Linked DNA regions of Homo sapiens: region 1 is linked to region 2. The links are contacts of gene promoters, found by promoter capture Hi-C in human tissues and cell types (Jung and others, 2019). All regions are on one chromosome and are shown on one strand. The core of a region is centred on a gene start or on the middle of the fragment in contact, and the rest is flanking DNA. Distances in the headings are between cores, read along the strand shown.

Region 1 (2,705 bases), core at 159-2,658, 100 kb after region 2:
CCTTTGTTGGCCATAGCAAATCTTTTTAGGGGACTCAAAGATGGAACTGAAGCCACAAGACTGTTTGCATCTGTTAGGCAGACTTAGACCGCCCTCCAAACCATTGGACTTTCACTTAAAATTCTGTGCAGGGAAAAGTATATTTACATTTGTTGCATTTGAAATGAGGCATATGCTGATGAATGTTTTAAAAAGGAAGAAATAAAAGGAGAGAGACGGGTTTCTCCCACACACTCCCTCCCCATTTCTTGTTTTAAAAGTAGCTATGACTCTTTCTTTTTCATTCTGCCAACTTGGAGCAAGAACAGTGGAAGAAAATAACTTGTCAGATTTACAAACTTGCTACATAGCATTCATAGATTAAATAGATAAAGATGGATATATATTATGATATATACATACATGGATATATCTATGTAAAGGTATAAACGTATATCACACACAGTACTATATTTCTTCTAGTATCTTGGACTGTGTCCCTTAGTATGAGTAATTTTGCTTCAGTATGAGTAATAAAAGAGAAAAAGGACATTCGTATATGGAAAAAGAGATAGGCTGAAGAAAAGCTTTCAAAATATCTGAAATGTAGATGATAAATGGTCTCAAAGCTCTCCAAAGCAGTGAATCACTTTCCCTCCCACTCTCTGGCGCACGGTTACAATGTTTATTTTCTTAGAAGAAACGAATCTTGGTTTCTTCACTTAACAAACTTTTTCCCCTCATAAGTAAAACATGTTGTTTGGTCGGATGACATTGCATAAATGACCAGTTGAATGGCACTAAGTCGAAAATTGGATAAACTACGGTGTCCTTTTGCACGGGATTCGCTCTTTGTCTAGTGCTTGCAAATGTTCTAATCCGCTCTTTTGAAAAATGCTCGGCTTTGTGCCTAGCACAGAAAAAAAATTTGTACAGATACAAAAAAATCAGCAGCAGACGCGGCTATTAAAAGGAGTAAATAGGTTTTAGTTGAGCTAAGCACTGAATGGCAGATTTTTTTCCCTCTTGAGACATAAGGGGATCCTTGTGAAAAATGTAAAAATGCCCTGAGCGTATAAAATTATTTTGTGAATATAAATGTAGAAAGTCAAGGTTTATGGAACCAAATCTTTTTTCTTGTGCACCGGTCTTACTGCTATGGCTCTTTGTTGGGACTGTAAGGGCTTTCACTTTAATTTAAAAATAATCTCTTGCTCAAAGGTAAATGAGGAGGAAAGATTTTTTGTGCGCAACAAGGGATCTCTTACGTCTCCAACTTATGTTCTTAGAATATTTCCCTATTTGTCCTGGAGAGTGTGAAGAAGGTGGCCAGCTTTGTGCAGACACAAAAAGTAGGAACTCACAGGTAGAACTGCACTTTTAGCTAAAAGGAGCTAAAACTATGGGTCTTTTGAATTATTTTCTGGGTATTTGTGGGCTCATTTGTTTGAAATATGCCTATGGCAACATAATTGCATAATTATAAATTCTATCTTTGGTAAAGAATGTGCAAACACGTGTTAAGAAATAAAGTAGAAGAGAGATCATCTGATTGAGTGATGGCCTCCACAGTGTCTGAATACCTGCCTTCTTTCCTTCCTTCTTCTTTTTCTCCCTTCCTTCCTTCCTTTTCTCCTTCCTTCCTTCCTTCTTTATTTTTTCCCTCTTTCATTACCGTTACTGCCTCATTTTTATCTTTTTAAGGAGGTGCATTTTACGTAAAATGTAATGGCTGGAAGAGCAAAAATAAACTTGTAAATTACCTAACTGGGCTGCGGTTTTGAGTGCACGTCAGGCGGAGAGAATTAAACTCAACCCTACACCCTGGCAAAGTGCACTGTGCGGATTATTTCCTTGGGGTAGAACTTTGAGACTTTCATTTGCGATTCTTTACTTTCCACAGATATCTAGTGTATTTGGTGAAACTTTTGTTCAAGCTTAGGGTCCCAACAATTTCCTTAGAACAAGCCTGTTTGTAGTAAGATCTCCACAAGCTCAGTCTGAGACAAACACCTGGGACGCCTCGGAAGACCCTGTAAAGTGCGGAGATTGAGGGTACGATTGGTCATCAATTTATTGGATCTTACTCTGAGTCCGGTTGGCCCAACCCCAGACTCCTCGATCTCCTCCACCTCATCCCCTCAGGGTCACAAATGTTGATTCACAAAAGACTTCTGTGAGGACAAACCAAAGATGGAGGGCCGCAGCCGCCCGGACTCCCGCACTTCCAGGTGAAATGCTTGGATCCAATGAGAGGAAGAGAACGGGCACACTCCTCCTCTAATTGTTTTGATAACTTTCCATAAGTGGTGTGTGTGTGTGTGTGTGTGTGTGTGTGTGAGAGAGAGAGAGAGAGAGAGAGAGAGAGGAGAAGAGAGAGAGAAAGAGAGACGCTTTACAGTCGGAGCATTAATGGGGCGGCAGGGGGAGGGCGAAGAGGGGAGGGAGCAGACAAATTCGCTGCATGCTTATTTACCTGCAAGTCGTCTGCTCCCGCGGCGGCCAGCCCCAGGCTGGGCCCTGGCAGGAGTCTTTGATCTGGGTGCATTCCATACTGAGAGCCATGGCTCATGAGGGACAGGTCATGGCGGCGGTAGGCATCGAGGCAGCCCAGCTCCCGCCTCTGCTCGTCCAGGCAGGACGACTTGAGCGCCCGCGCATTGTGCAGGTTAATAAAGTCGGTGGGCTCCCCGTGGTGGATCTGCTGGTAGTACTGTTGCGAGTGG
Region 2 (2,778 bases), core at 268-2,767:
AGGTGTGGGCGCCAGGCGCTGCCTGTGGGCGCTCGTCCGAGCCCGAGTCCCCCAGGAGCTTGCCGGCCGCGCCTGTGAGTCGCCCACTCTTAGGATCTTCGAGGCGGCTCTGCGCCGGGCTTTCAGGAGCTGTCCCGATCCGGAGGGGTCGCGTGTCTTTCTCGGCTCTTTGGGGAGCCTCTGCATCCCTCCACCTTTCGTCTGACCTAGCGGCCCGCGCCCGCCACCCGGGAGTCTGCTTCTCTTCCTTCCTTTTCTCTCCAACTTTTCCTCTTAGCAATCTCCATGGCCCGCTTCGCCCGCCTCGACTTCCCTCCTTTTCTAAATCCGCTTCGCCTTTCCGAAGTTTTTATTTCCAACCTCGACGTCTCAGCAGAACCTTCCCTTCCTCCCTTCCCCTGGCAACCACCTGGGGCTGTCCCAGACCATTCCGCTTAAAAGCGAGGCTCCGCGGGCTTCCCGGTCCCCAGCCTGGCCCGCCGCGCGCCCCGCGCCTCGCCCGCCTCGGCCGCCTCTCCCACCTCGCCCGCCTCTCCCACCTCGCCCGCCTCGGCCGCCTCGTCCGCCTAGTCCGCCTCGCCCGCGAGTAGCGGAGCCGTCTGGCCGCGTCAGCCCTCGCCCGAGCCGGAAAAGGGCTTTGGCGAGCGCGGTCCGGGCCCCGGAGGCGGCTGGCGTCCTCCTGGCTGGGCGCAACTTCTCCTGCCCCGAAGAGTTGAGCTAGCCTCAGTGCTAGAGACCCGTACGCATTGAACGTGGGCAGAAATTTCCGTGAAAGATGCCCACACAGGAGGCGGCTGCGATTTCTGTTCGGACGCAGTGACCCTCAAGGAAGCAAAACACAAGAAAACAGAAACTAATAAACTGCTACGACTTCTATTTTGCTCTATCCATCCATATCTCCAGCCATCTACTTCTTTCCCGCTAATTCTCTGTCCTCTACTTGGAACCATTTGTTATCAATTTCAGAAATTTTATTGAAAATAAAAATTAAAAGCCCGAGTCTGTTACAAATGAGGCTTGAAAACCCAATTCTCTTCCACACTTAAAACGAGAAAAGCCCCTGACTTTATCAGAATCTCGATTTTCTCTGAGAGCGTGCCCACATTCAGTAGCACCACATTCCCCATCAGAGCTTAAAAGGGTGGGGTGGGGTGGGGGGAGGCGAGGAAAAGGGAAAGAAAAATAAAATAAATAAAAACATTCCTAAATTAAAGTTGTCAGATTTCAGCCTTAAAGTCCCTTTTCAGAGCAGCGAAGTCTTCCCTAGCCAGCTTTTCTAAAAGTTAAAAAAAGCTGAGAAAACCGACCGGAAATCTACGAGTAAATAGCTTAAAAATATATATCATTTGGGGTATCAAGAAGCTCAAATTCTCTATCTGCAAAGCTCTAAGGTGCATCTGGGGGTGTCGACTCACCTCATAGATATCTTCGTACTTGACATTCTCCACAAGCTTCCAGAGCATGATGGCAGCCTGGTCTCTAGGAGGTGAGTGCATTCATGTGAGGAGCAGATGTCTGGCTTCTCAGGACTCCGCTGTCTGTAATGATCCATCTATAATTGGAAATGGGGGATACACACCAAATCCGACGCTCCTCTCCCATCGCAACTTATATCTGTTGTCTCAAACAATAGGCTGGACAAGTAAGCCTCAGCAAAGAGAAAAAACATTATTGCACACACAGGAGTTAGATGCAACCCACAGACATATATACTATAAAAATCATAAACCCGTATTTACACCCAGACACCCACATATAGTTATATAAGCACCTCTGGGTCACACAGTCTGCAGACTCCAAATGTGCATTTAACAAAGAGTTGTTCAGGGTGATTAATATAATATATACATTTTATAACTTCTATATCGAAAATGACACATCATTGTAGCCACTAACTGAAGTCTTTGCAATTCATAATGAGAAACCAGGGGCCATCAGTCCCCTATTTTCTATGTAGATTTTAAAGGGGGACACTTACCAAGATTTTTAAACACAAAAGCTCCCTCCTATTCATGTATGTTCCGGAAGAGAGTATTTTGAAAGGCTGGATATGGGGGATTTTAAGGACTATCTCTGTGTTGATGGCTACACAACTTTTTTTTTTTTAACTTTATCTCTGTCACCATAGAACAAAAAAGCTAGCCACCGTTGATGACCATTTCTAATATTTTCTGGTCATTTTACCTAAAACCTTTGGAAACTTAAATACACCTCAGTTTGTGCTGCTTGTTATTTTAGGTGTTGTTTGTATGCATTTTCAACGGATTCCATGCACCATTCCTCTTGGCTGGAGTCTCCATTTTATCAAGTTTTTTTCAGATGTTGGAAGCAACGTACGCACACGTTCAGACAAGGTTAATTTTGAGCCTTTTTTGCAGAGGCCAAGGACATTTTATATTTGCATCTGTTGTGTATGACTTGTAAGTGGTTTTAATCATGGAGAGTCAAGAAAGGGCCACCCGAATCTTTGAAAAGGTTTAAGCAGAATGTCTTCAAAGAGATAGTGAAAAATATTTTAGTGCATGTGGAGTTTCTTCTTTTTTTTGTATAATTTTTCTTAATAAGATGATTCATATAGTTTTTAAAAAGGAAAACATCATCAGCAACAAGAACAATATTAACCAGACTTAGAAAATGGGCACCATTTAAGGCGCAGGGATTCTGAATTTTATCATGAAATGAATACTCATCTGTTCCCCTGTTCCCCCTTTCCCATCCCCTCTGTTTTTCTACTCCCTTTCAGGGTGCGGAGAGCTTCTCATAGCCGGAACAGACGCC

What was found. Contacts are between HindIII fragments. The study calls those that stand out against the background at their distance.
Region 1: a contact is called between a fragment that was not itself captured here and the fragment with the promoter of TFAP2B in region 2, in 4 of the 25 tissues and cell types used here (H1 embryonic stem cells, liver, neural progenitor cells and 1 more).

Annotation. Positions count from the first base shown.
Region 1 is chr6:50,715,364-50,718,068 of GRCh38, reverse strand. It overlaps TFAP2D (transcription factor AP-2 delta), which reads right to left. Exons shown (of 8, transcript NM_172238.4): 2 at 2,456-2,705. Among named protein-coding and RNA genes, the nearest start is that of TFAP2D, 3.2 kb to the right of the region's middle. RefSeq lists enhancers at 1-538, 2,279-2,705. The HindIII fragment of the contact is 3,132 bases long and covers 1-2,705 here.
Region 2 is chr6:50,817,610-50,820,387 of GRCh38, reverse strand. It overlaps TFAP2B (transcription factor AP-2 beta), which reads right to left and starts at 1,517. Exons shown (of 7, transcript NM_003221.4): 1 at 1,416-1,517. The coding sequence starts at 1,496. LOC124901490 (a long non-coding RNA gene) reads left to right here and starts at 1,362. Exons shown (of 2, transcript XR_007059923.1): 1 at 1,362-1,486; 2 at 2,744-2,778. The HindIII fragment of the contact is 7,987 bases long and covers 1-2,778 here.